Linked DNA regions of Homo sapiens: region 2 is linked to region 1. The links are contacts of gene promoters, found by promoter capture Hi-C in blood cells and fetal thymus (Javierre and others, 2016). All regions are on one chromosome and are shown on one strand. The core of a region is centred on a gene start or on the middle of the fragment in contact, and the rest is flanking DNA. Distances in the headings are between cores, read along the strand shown. Region 1 holds the start of PPIG (peptidylprolyl isomerase G). Region 2 overlaps PHOSPHO2-KLHL23 (PHOSPHO2-KLHL23 readthrough).

The links. The method cuts DNA at HindIII sites, captures the fragments that hold promoters and counts their contacts. A CHiCAGO score of 5 or more calls a contact.
Region 2: a fragment that was not itself captured here is called in contact with the fragment with the promoter of PPIG in region 1 in 2 of 17 cell types (megakaryocytes and total B cells); the score reaches 6.4 in megakaryocytes.

The regions. Positions count from the first base shown.
Region 1 is chr2:169,580,361-169,586,603 of GRCh38, reverse strand. PPIG (peptidylprolyl isomerase G) reads right to left here and starts at 2,253. Exons shown (of 14, transcript NM_004792.3): 1 at 2,114-2,253. RefSeq lists an enhancer at 2,288-2,337. The HindIII fragment of the contact is 789 bases long and covers 1,740-2,528 here.
Region 2 is chr2:169,734,949-169,741,076 of GRCh38, reverse strand. The region is part of intron 3 of PHOSPHO2-KLHL23 (PHOSPHO2-KLHL23 readthrough); the gene reads right to left. It overlaps KLHL23 (kelch like family member 23), which reads right to left. Exons shown (of 4, transcript NM_144711.6): 2 at 4,850-6,064. The coding sequence starts at 6,062. Among named protein-coding and RNA genes, the nearest start is that of KLHL23, 4.2 kb to the right of the region's middle. The HindIII fragment of the contact is 208 bases long and covers 2,943-3,150 here.

The DNA.
Region 1 (6,243 bases), core at 1,004-3,503:
AAATATGTAGAAGTCACCAATACTGCAAGACCACAATAATAAGCACCACAGTAAATCGACTATATGGTTAAAAATAAATGTAATGAACACTCTTCACCCATAAAGGAACCACTGAGTTAATGAAAGCCAACTTCACACACAATTTTAACAAAGCTGAGTATTTAATTTTCAAGCCCACAGTTGATGGAAGGTGGAGATCAAAATGTCATTTTGCAGGTAGGTGAAGAAACTGAAGCTCAGAAAGATAATTGGGCCAGAAAGTCCAAATTTTTCTAACCTAAGAAGTTTACATACTTATACACTCCTGACAGCAGGAGCACTCCTGACAACTGACTGCCTAGAAAAGCCTTAAAAAGGAAACCAACAATTCAAATGCGCAGAATCCTACTACAAGACCCTATAGGATCTCAGAGCATCAATAATTCTGAATCATAAAGAAATAGTCAAACAATGTACAATGAACTCTTGTTTAAGACACAGAACCATGTAATTTGTTACAGAAATAATTCTGTCCCAACTCGTTAACATAAAAAAAAGGGGAGTGCTAAAACGGGTAAATTTTCAGGATATATTAAAAACAGGAGAGAAGCAGCCATTCTAAATGTATCTTTTCTGGATTTTATAGCACGATTTCAAAATTTATAAAATGTTCACCCCCCCACCCGTCATTGTTACAAAGTAGCAATTACCGGCCATCCTGTTACCAAATGGGAATACACAAAGACAAAAACGTGTGTGTGACCGACACACACACACACTCACTCTTTTTTCCTGGTTTTAACTACTGAAAGTTAATATCAGGCCCCCCTAATTTCTAAAACATCTAATTGTTCTTTGGACAACTATGTTAGTACCAAACTATAAAAGCAAATACTTTTGTATTTGTGTTCACTACTGCAAAATGTTGGTTACACACAGAAAGGGCTATCGTGGAAAGAAATTAAAATCAATGCACAAAATGGTGCTTTTATAGCATTTCCAAAACGATTGTGCATACTCCTTGCCAGCACATCTAGACTTTGCTCCTTAAGACTAAACATGAGCTGGCCGTGCGCGGTGGCTCTCGCCTGTAATCCCAGCACTTTGGGAGGCCGAGGTGGGCGGATCACGAGGTCAGGAGATCGACCATCCTGGCTAACACGGTGAAAACCCGTCTCTACTAAAAACACAAAAAATTAGCCGGGCATGGTGGCACGTGCCTGTAGTCCCAGCTACTTGGGAGGCTGAGGCAGAAGAATCACTTGAACCCAGGAGGCGGAGGTTGCAGTGAGCCAAGATCGCGCCACTGCATTCCAGCCTAGGCGACAGAGCGAGACTCCGTCTCAAAAAAAAAGACTAACCAAGAACCAAATTAGCATACTTCCCCTTCAGGCATACTGAGCCCCGAAATCATCATCTTCCTCCTAAAGAGTAATTATCTCCTCCTAAAAGGCCTGCGCAGCTCACAGCTCCTCCGAAACACGGGGGAACTTCGCGAGAGCTCAAGACCCTGGACTTGAGTTTTAGAAAAATGCTTAACAAAGTGGCCTCTGCCACTTAACTGCACGACAGCCACTGTGCTGTGAGAGGAAAAGGTCGAAAGAGGAGGAAAGCTAGTCTTCAATTTTAATCCCTGTGATTCAGGCTCTTCGCCCGTCACTCTCCAACCCTAGCCTGACAGGACGTCAGGCTGTCTCCCCCTTCCCCACCAGTCCCGCCACCTACCCCGCAACAGTGCTGAGTCTTAGGATTTTGAAGCTTTAAAAATCAACCCGGCTCCCTAGAGTTCAGGCCGCAGTCGCTGCCGCCATGTTACAGCTTGTGCGGCAAAATGCGTCAGTGAGGGAGGTGTGCGCCTGAGTGGGGAGGGCGGGGGCTGGCAGAGGAAGGACCGTCCCCAGGCCCCGGGGCTCGACTGCAAGCCTTCTCCTTCTGCAACAGCGGCAAAGGCACTGCTGCGGTCCTCAGGGACTTCCTCTGGGCCCAAGCAGCCCCGATACCTCGAGGGAAAGACGGTAAACCCAACCCGGTCAGCCGCGCCGGCTCCGCCCCTCTTCCCAGGCCCTTCCCGCTTTCGTACGCAGGGACTGCTGAAATGACGCCGCCAGAACAACTTGAGCCTCATACCACTTACCTGCACCGGTAGAGTTTTCCTCTTCTCTGGGTCCGGTCCTTTGAAGCGCTTCAAATCTACCGCCGCCAGAAAAGGCGCTAAAGCCCGCTAACCGCCTCCCTCCCCCACAACTCAGTCCTGGCATGGAGAGACAGCGTCGCACCGGAAGCGCGTCAGGAGTGGGTTGTCAGCATCGGCCAGCGTTCACCTGCTTGCGTCACCACGCCCTCCTAGGACTTCTAGGATTTTGGTGCCTTTTAAATTCCTAGTTTATAGGTGGCCTAATGCTTTGTGGATGCGTTGACTGGGAACGCTTGTAACCGTTAAAATGCCATATCCTTTGTGAAGTAAAGTGCCTCATTTAATAAACATTTATTGATCTTACGCTAGGTTATCAGAAAGGAAGGCCTACCTTCATGGAGCTTCCAGTTAAGCTTCCACTTAACGCTAGGATATAAGTTCTAAAAACGCAGTAATGAGCAAAGTGTTATTTGAGGAAAGAGGAAGAAATTACAAAGAGCTTTGATGTTCTTTGTTGTTTTACAGATAAAGAAATTGAGGCTCAGGGAAGATAAACGCCTCCTCCTCAAACACACTGTTCTTGAATGCCAAAGCAAGTCTTTTGATGCCAAATCTAGTGCCTTCTAGAGAAAATATGGCATATATTATTTAATTATTTTAAGGGGCAAGGGTCCCCGGATTATGTTAGAAATAAATAACCATTGCTGTTTGGGCGGGGGGGTGGGGGGGGATGGGCAGTGATTCTGGTAGGGATGTGGGGTGTGTTTTAAAGGAACTAGCTAACTAGAGGACTTAAATTGTTCTGTCGTTTAAAGGCAACGTAAATTATGATCATTTAAATTTTTCACTCACTTGCATCAGGTAAATTAATTATCAACAACAGTTAGGCATGTGGTGGTGCTTCTAAGGGGCGTGACCAGTTTTACACAGCAGTAAAACAGAGGACATTTCTGCCTCTCCACCCCCACCTCTTTTAAGTCATTGCCCTTTATTGCAGGAGAGCAGCAGCATATTCATCTTTAGATAGTTCAGAGATTAAACGGATTTACACTTCGCTGTGTGTGGAGGGGACAATTCTGCAATACCTTAAAACAGGGGTCCCCAACCCCTGGGCCACAGACTGGCCTGGCTAATTTTTTGTATTTTTAGTAGAGACAGGGTTTCTCCATGTAGGTCAGGCTGGTCTCAAACTCCCAACCTCAGGTGATCCGTCCTCCTTGGCCTCCCAAAGTGCCGGGATTACAGGTGTGAGCCACCACGCCCGGCCAACGCTTTTCGAAAGAAGACATACTTGCAGCCAACAATCATAATGAAAAAGCTCAACACCACCAATCATCAGAAAAATGCAAATCAAAACCGCAGTGAGATACTATCTCATACCAGTCAGAATGGCTATTATTAAAAAGTCAAAAAATAACAGGTGCTGGTGAGGTTGTGGAGAAAAAGGAACATTTTACAGTGCTGGTGGGAGTTTAAATGAATTCAACTATTGTGGAAGACAGCGTGGCGATTCCTCAAAGACCTAGAGGCAGAAATACCATTTGACCCAGCAATCACATTACTGGGTATATACCCAAAGGAATATAAGTTGTTCTGTTATAAAGACATACACATATGTATGTTCATTGCCACACTATTCACAATAGCGAAGACATGGAGTCAACCTAAATGTCCATCAATGGTAGACTTGATAAAGAAAATGTGGTACATATACTCCATGGAATACTATGCAGCCATGAAAAAGAATGATCTCATGCCCTTCGCAGGAACATGGATGGAGCTGGAGACCATTATCCTTAGCAAACTAATGCAGAAACAGAAAACCAAGTACCACATGTTCTCACTTATAAGTGGGAGCTAAATGATGAGAACACATGAAGACATAGAGGGGCACAATACACACTGGGGCCTATCAGAGTGTAGACAGTGGGAGGAGGGAGAGGATCAGGAAAAATAACTAATGGGTCCTAGACTTAATACCTAGGTGATGAAATATTCTGTACAACAAACCCCCATTACACAAGTTTACCTCTGTAACAAACCTGCATATGTACCCCACAACTTAAATAAAAATAAATAAATGGAAGGATACTGTATGTATAGTGTATATAATAAACAACATTTGTTATCCTATAGTTTCCTTATATATATTTATATATATATTTATTATCCTAGTGTGTGTATGTATACATATACTATATATGTGTATATATACATATATATACACACACATATATGTACGTGTGTGTGTATATATGTGTATATATATATAAATAAGTGTTGTTTAAGCCACTAAGTTTTGGGATGATTTTGTCACACAGCAAGGGATAACTGACACAGAGAAGAAAGAATAGACTGATTATCACGGAACTTTTCACTTGTCTAATTCTACATAGCTTCATTTTTTTTCTTTTTTTCTAGAGACAGGGTCTCATTATGTTGCTCAGGATGGACTTGAACTCCTGGAGTCAAGCGATTCTCCCACCTTAGTCTCCAGAGTAGCTGGGACTACAGGTATGTACCACCTCACCCAGTGATGACCTCACATCATAAGGATCTGAGTTTCTGCCAGCCCGAATCATCAAATGCCAGAGAAGTATTTTACTAACATAGCAGTAACAGCTCCAAAATTTGTACTCCCACTTACATAGTAGGGGGTGTCACTGGAAAGTGTCTGTTCTGCTAAGAACTACATTTTTTAGCTGTCCCCTTGTATCTTAGTGGCTTGAAACAACATTTATTATCCCATAGGTAAGGATTTAAAAATGCTTTTTGGGGCCGGGCGTGGTGGCTCATGCCTGTAATCCCAGCACTTTTGGAGGCTGAGATGGGTGGATCACGAGGTCAGGAGTTTGAGACCAGCCTGGCCAAGATGGTGAAACTCCAGCTCTACTAAAAATACAAAAATTAGCCGGGCACAGTGGTGGGCACCTGTAATCCCAGCTACTTGGGAGGCTGAGGCAGGAGAATCGCTTGAACCCAGGAGGTGGAGGTTGCAGTGAGCCAAGATTGCACCACTGCACTCTAGCCTGGGTGACAGAGCAAGACTCCATGTCAAAATAAATAAAATAAAATAAAATAAAATAAAATATAAAATAAATAAAATATACTTTGTGTCAGTGGAAAGTGAGCGGACATCCAGGCCAAAATGTTTGTGAAGTGCTATGCCTTCTCCATTCCCTCTCTTCCTGTTTTGTCAGCTGAACCAGAATGTTTTAAGGCCCTGGGGAAGGGCCTATGGAAAAGGTCTACTTCCCTGAATCTCTGTTTGGAGAAAAGTCCTCTTCCACTGACTAGGGATATCCACATTGGAATGTGGTGTGACTGATAAATCAAATTATGTGGGTTAAATCACTGATGTTTGGCTTTATTTGTTACACCAGATACCACTACCAATCTAATAGGCTGTGAGCCTAAAGTATTAGATTTGGCCTAGCCTGGATCACTTCAGTCATTGTAGTATGAGGAATGGGATTTGATACCAGAAGAAGGGAGGTAGGTTGGCTGGGCTACTGCAATTAACCTTTACTTTACCTGTGACTTTTGCTTTAGAGTAATAAAACTTTTTGTTTCTACCCATAGATCAACAACAAACTGTTGTTTGTTCTATTAATAGTTGTCTACTGTATCACCAATAATATGTTTAGTTTTTTTTAAAAGCATGCCATTCTCTGATTGTGATGGATCAAGGAAAAAACCAGACACTTCCATAATCTTGTTTCAGACAAAAACAAGAACATTGTACAAACTGTAAAAACGACCAAACATCGGCCGGGCATGGTGGCTCACGCCTGTAATCCCAGCACTTTGGGAGGCCAAGTCAGGCGGATCACAAGGTCAGAAGATCAAGACCATCCTGGCTAACACGGTGAAACCCTGTCTCTACTAAAAATACAAAAAATTAGCCAGGTGTGGTGGCAGGCGCCTGTAGTCCCAGCTACTTGGGAGGCTGAGGCAGGAGAATGGTGTGAACCTGGGAGGTGGAGCTTGCATTGAGCTGAGATCGTGCCATTGCACTCCAGCCTGGGTGACAGAGTGAGACTCTGTCTCAAAAAAAAAAAAAAAAAAAAGACGAAATATCCATCTATCCTTGCTAATATGAATGGCTGCTGTTTCTTTATCAATTACAG
Region 2 (6,128 bases), core at 1,797-4,296, 150 kb before region 1:
TCATGTGTTTCTGGTGATGCTGTTGTAAATAAATCTACGCCTCTGGCAGGTCCTTCAAGAGGTATTCCAGAAGAAGGCATTATTATCATAGGAGAGGATAGCTCTATGCCTGTTATTGCCCTTGAAAGCCTGCAAGTGGGACAAGATGTGGAGGTGGAAGACAGTGATATTGATGACTCTGACATTGATGATCCTGACCCTGTATAGGCCTCAGCTAATGTGTATGTCTGTGTCTTACTTTTTTAACAAAAAAGTTTAACGAGTAAAAAAATCAATAAATAAGTTATATATATATATATATATATATATAATATAAAAAAGCTTATAGAGGCCGGGCGCAGTGGCTCACGCCTGTAATCCCAGCACTTTGGGAGGTCAAGGTGGGTGGATCACGAGGTCAGGAGATTGAGACCATCCTGGCTAACACGGTGAAACCCCGTCTCTACTAAAAATACAAAAAATTAGCAGGACGTGGTGGTGGGCGCCTGTAGTCCTAGCTACTCGGGAGGCTGAGGCAGGAGAATGGCGTGAACCCAGGAGACTGAGCTTGCAGTGAGCCAAGACAGTGCCACTGCACTCCAGCCTGGGTGACAGAGCGAGACTCCGTCTCAAAAAAAAAAAAAGCTTATAGAATAAGGATAAAAAGAAAGTATTTTTATAAGCTATATAAAGTCTACAGTAATGCCTGTAATTCCAGAAGTTTAGGAGGCTGAGGCAGGGGATCACTTGAGCCCAGGAGGAGTTTGAGACCAGCTTGGACTACAAAGTGAGACCACATCTCTACAAAAAATAAAAAAGTAGCCACGTGTGATAGCATGTGCCTGTAGTCCCAGCTACTCGGGAGGCTGAGGTGGGAGGATTGCTTGATCTCAGGAGGTCAAGGCTGCAGTGAGCTATGTTTACATCACCGCAGTCCAGCGTACGTGTCAGAGCAAGACCCTGTCTCAAAAAAAGTAAAAAGTCTACAGTAGTGTACAGTAATGTCCTAGGCCTTCACAATCCCTCCCCACTTACTCACCGACTCAACCAGAACAACTTCCAGTCCTGCAAGCTCCATTCATGGTAAGTGCCCCAAATAGGTCTACCATTTTTATCTTTTATGCTGTATTTTTACTGTACTGTTTCTATGTTTAGATACACAAAGACTTACCATTGTGTTATACTGCTTAGAATATTCAGTATAGTAACATGCTGTACAGGTCTGAAGCCTAGGAGTAACAGGCTATACCACACAGCCTAGGTGTGTATTAGGCTGTAGAATTAGTATGGTATAGCCTGTTGTTTAAGTATAACGTTCACATGACAAAATTGCCTAATCACACATTTCTCAGAACATATCCCCATTGTTAAGTGGCACATGGCTGTAATTAGAACACTAGATATAAAATGGAAGAAACACCATGAAAAAAGGGACAGATGAACTGCTGGGCATGGTCAGGGCAAGAAAACACTGCATTTGACGAGGGAAATCACAGCAGGTGGTGGTGGAATTTGACCTGGGTGATGGTAGGAAGTTGGCAAGTATAGATGAGAGGAGGCCATTCTAGACAGAGGGAAAAGCCAGTGCAAAGGCTTACTGGACAATGTTAAGTAGCCCAGTTTGACCAGGGCAGGTGGCACATTGAGGGTTGTTGCATGGGACTTTAAGGCTGGCATGGTAAGTTGAAGCCATGTAGCAAAGGATACTTACTGATGCCCAACAAAGAATCTGGATTTAATTCAGCCAGATTTTAAAGGTTTTTAAACAGAGGAATAGAGCAACTAACAAAGGAAGAACAGGTACCAGAAAGATCTAGTTACTGGCCAGGGTGGGCGGTCTCGAGGGCCTGATTTTGAAGGGGCTTTGGGTATGGAGGGAAGAGCATAGAGGAAAGAGACAGGTAAAACACACAGGTCTTGATGACTGACTGACGCAGAGGCAAACCAAACCGATTTTGAGGTCCTGAGCTGGAAAAACTGGAATCACTGATGCCAAAACAAGGAGGGGTGGGGGAAGTCGAGGAGGGGAAGGAGAGGGAGGGGAAGGAGGAGGAGGAAGAAGAAGGCAGAAGGAGGGAGAGGAGATGGGGGAGGGGAAGGGGAGGAGGGGGAGGGGGAGGGGAAGGGGGAGGAGAGGGAGGAGGGGGAGGAGAGGGAAGGAGGAGGAAGAAAGAGGAAGATAGGCGAAACATGAAAGGGAGATAGGGAGGAGAGGGAGGGGAAGGGGGAAGAGAGGGGAGGGTGAGGAAGGGGAGGGGGAGGAGGGGGAGGAAATAGGTTTGGAGGGAAGATGAAGAAAGGAAGAAAGATGATGAGGATCATTTTAGTTGAAAACGTTGGTTTTGTCTTTCCACTAACTTTTACCTAGCACCATTTTGCATGATACAGTTCAATCTTCTTGTTCCTTTCTATTCCAAAATAAAAGTGGATTTATAAGTAGAGCAGTTATGATGGAAAAAAATAAAGATTCAGGAGTTCCTAAACAGCCAAGTATTTATTTATTCTCTGTACATTAGTGAACTTAATTTGGGTCCAGGACCAAAAAAAGGTAATAAATTTTAAATTTGACTGTACCCAAATTAAGTTTATTACCAGAGAAAGCTGCTATTTCACTTCAAGGCTACAAAATAAAACGAATTGAAAAAAATGTTATCCTTTCTACCAAAAAATGGGAATCTAAAAGTTCAGTATGGCTGGGTGTGGTGGTTCACACCTATAATCCCCGCACTTTGGGAGGCCAAGGTAGGAGAATCATTTGAGGCCAGGGGTTCAAGACCAGCCTGGGCAACATAGTGAGACCCCCCGCCATTTCTAGTTTTAAAAATTAAAAATAAAATTTTAAAAATTGTTTAAAAAAAGTTCTGTATGAGTCCACCCACCAAAACAAGCAGTAGTCAAAACTGCACATAACTGGCAGTGTTACCTCTCCCTGGGATGACTAGATATAAACAAGAATCAAAGCTTTGAGTTCAAAGTATAAAACTGGAATTTCAGACCCAGTTAGCAGGTGAGGGAGGACTTTGAGGTATGAGGGTCTCCTACTCCACTCAAGGTTAACGCAAGCATGCATATGGCTTTTGTTTCACAGTAGATACACCATCGCAGCATATCTTTTTTCAACAAGCACTGTTCTAAATATAAATTTTTAAAATTTCAGTAAAGTAATAAGCTTTCATTCTCAAAGAAATATACTCTGAACCCACCCTTGTAATCCCAGCACTTTGGGAGGCCAAGGTGGGGGGATCACTTGAGGTCAGGAGTTCAAGACCAGCCTGGCCAACATGGTGAAACCCCGTCTCTACTAAAAATACAAAAATTACCTAGGTGTGGTGGCACATGCCTGTAATCCCAGCTACTCAGGAGGCTGAGGCAGGAGAACTGCTTGAACCCGGGAGGCAGAGGTTGCAGTGAGCCAAGATCACGCCACTGCATTCCAGCCTGGGAGACAGAGTGAGACTCCATCTCAAAAAAAAAAAAAGAAAAAGAAAAAGAAATATACTCTGAACCACAAAACCATTGAAACTGTTATATCATCCTTAAAAAACAGAATCAGAAATGTATGCTAGTTTACAATAGCTCCTTAAATATATGGACTTTTCTTATTTCTTTTGCAGAAGAGGGGTCAGGACATTCAGAGCCCTCCTGGAATCGGCAAGTAGTGGTGAGACTCAGGCAAAGACAAAAACCAGGGGAGCAACAGCACCGGGCTTTCTGCTACCTTCTCCCACCCTGGTGTGACAGTGGTCACAACTTCACATGAAATCAATTTCTGCTCTATAAGAGCTGACATGTCCTTCAATACCGACATTCAGGACAATCATGCGTAACATTTATAGCATGCTTACTCTGTGTCAGACACTGTTCTAGGCACTTCACAAGCATAGATTAATTTAATCCTCTCAATGATCCGAGACTAGGTAATATTGTCATCCCCATTATACAGATGACAAAACGGGGGCACAGGGTGATTAAACAATTTGCCAGAGCTCATCAGCAAGTAAGAGGAAAGCAGGGATCTGGATGCAGGCAGTTTAGCTTCAGAGGCAGCGTGCCTGATCCCAAGACTGTTCTGCCTCTCAGCTTCCTGCCTGTCATCCAAGGATCATACCAGGTCAGATTTCCAGACCAGGTCAAATTCCCACACTCTCACTAGCATTAAAAAAGAAACAGAAAAGCCTGGGAAGAAACATTTGGGACAAAATGATACAAATTTGGTAACGACCTACCAGTTGTTTTTGTACAACTCCTCAGCACCAATGAATAAATACAATGAAATAAGATTCCCGTTTAACTTTTTTTCCAGTGGGAGAGAAGGAGAGCAAGGCAAACAAATCGCCAAACACAGCAGAAAATAGTGTTTATCAGACAGATACCGAGACCCAGGGGTGTGCCGGGTTCTGTGGGCCACATGAGGGAGAGTATGGTGTCTGCCCCTCTCAGAGAGGACTGAATTGCAAAAGCAGACGTTGTCTCTAGTTCCTGGAAGAATGTACTTTGTTACATCCTGTAGGGACCAAACCTTCCAAGGTTTTAATGAAGGACCTCTTGAGAGCTGATCAGCGTATTTTGAGAGGAAAAAGTTGAATAGCAGAATTTTAAAGGGTTCAATTTTAAGAACATGAAAAAATGAAAAACTGTCCAGATTTGTCTCTTCATCTAGCCCTTGACTTGAATATAAATTCTCATAACTCTCAGACAAGTTGGGAACTATGCTATACTGTTTTTATCTGGAACATTCTGTGTAGCATTATTTGTATAATTAACTATAGTTCCTAGATAGCATCCCAAAGTGATAAATTCAAGAGAAGTGAGACTGCTGGCCTAGCTCCAGACATCTAAAAAATACAAAATAAACATAATCTCCACTTACCTTTAATCATGTTTGCAATAGGAATCCATTTCTCTTTTAAAGGATCATAGAACTCAGCCTCTTCTGCTGGAGCCCCTTTTCTGTAACCACCTAAAGCATAGACACAGCCACCCAAGGTGACTGCACAGTGGTAATACCTGGCATTGAGCATTGGCAAACCTTCTGTCCATTCATCACTTTCACTGTTATAGATCCACACTGTGTCAAGAGCTTCTATGTTATCCGTCCTGTAGCCCCCAGTTACATAAATGTTGGGTCCTAAACATGTAACACCATAGCTCTCCCTGGTATAATCTGGTATTTCTGCTCCCTGAATCCAAACATTTGTCAAAGGATCCCATATGTGAACCTCTGATAAAGGATGCCAGTAATAGCCTCCAATTATATACATTGTGGCTGTGGACCTCTGGGAAATCTCTTTATGCATGGGATTCAAGGCATTGTATATTAGGGAGCGGATCTTATTTTCGGTGAGCAGGCAGCTTCTTTGAAGGCCTAAGGCTGTTTTTAAGTACACTGGATCTATATCAATGTTGATATAGCTCAGTAGATTATAGAGGCATTCAATTCGATTTTCTACATCATGAGCAGTCCACTTAATAACTGGCTCTATGATAGCTTCTTCTTTCCAAACACTGAGATTCTTTCTGGACAAGATAAAGAGAAACTTTTCAAGGCTGATTTCCAGAAATTCTTCTTGTTGCCACACTTCCTTAAACTTTGAACATAGAATTCTTCGAGATTCCTTCTCTAGTTCTGGACACACATGAAATTCTGCAAAGGAGTGCATTCCAATACAATTATCAATATCCAAGTGCCTTACCAAAAACCGCTCACAAGCCTTCTTTACTGAAAGGAACTGTAGCAGATCCGCTGCCTCAAGCAGGCTTTGAACATTTCTTTTAGTTATTTCAATTTGGGAAGTGTATGCATAATTTACAAGGCCTTCCAGAATATCATGGTGGATGCCAGAGAGTTTTATTTTATTTTTAAATTTTTCTTTCATGTCAGCTGTGAACATTGCCTTAAAATAATTGCTGCAAGCAGCTAAAACGGCTCGGTGACAATGGAAAATTATGCCTGAAGGACACTGAAGAGTAATATCAGTAAATAATCCATCCAAGTAAAATGTTCTGAATGCATCCAGAAAATCCACTGGATGTGTTGAATCCTTGAAAAGATAAATATAATCTTCTTGTCCTTTTAGAGCCATGGCTGCAATAAATATGAAATAACAAATGTGTTTTCAATGTTGCACATTCTCTCAAATAATCAACGC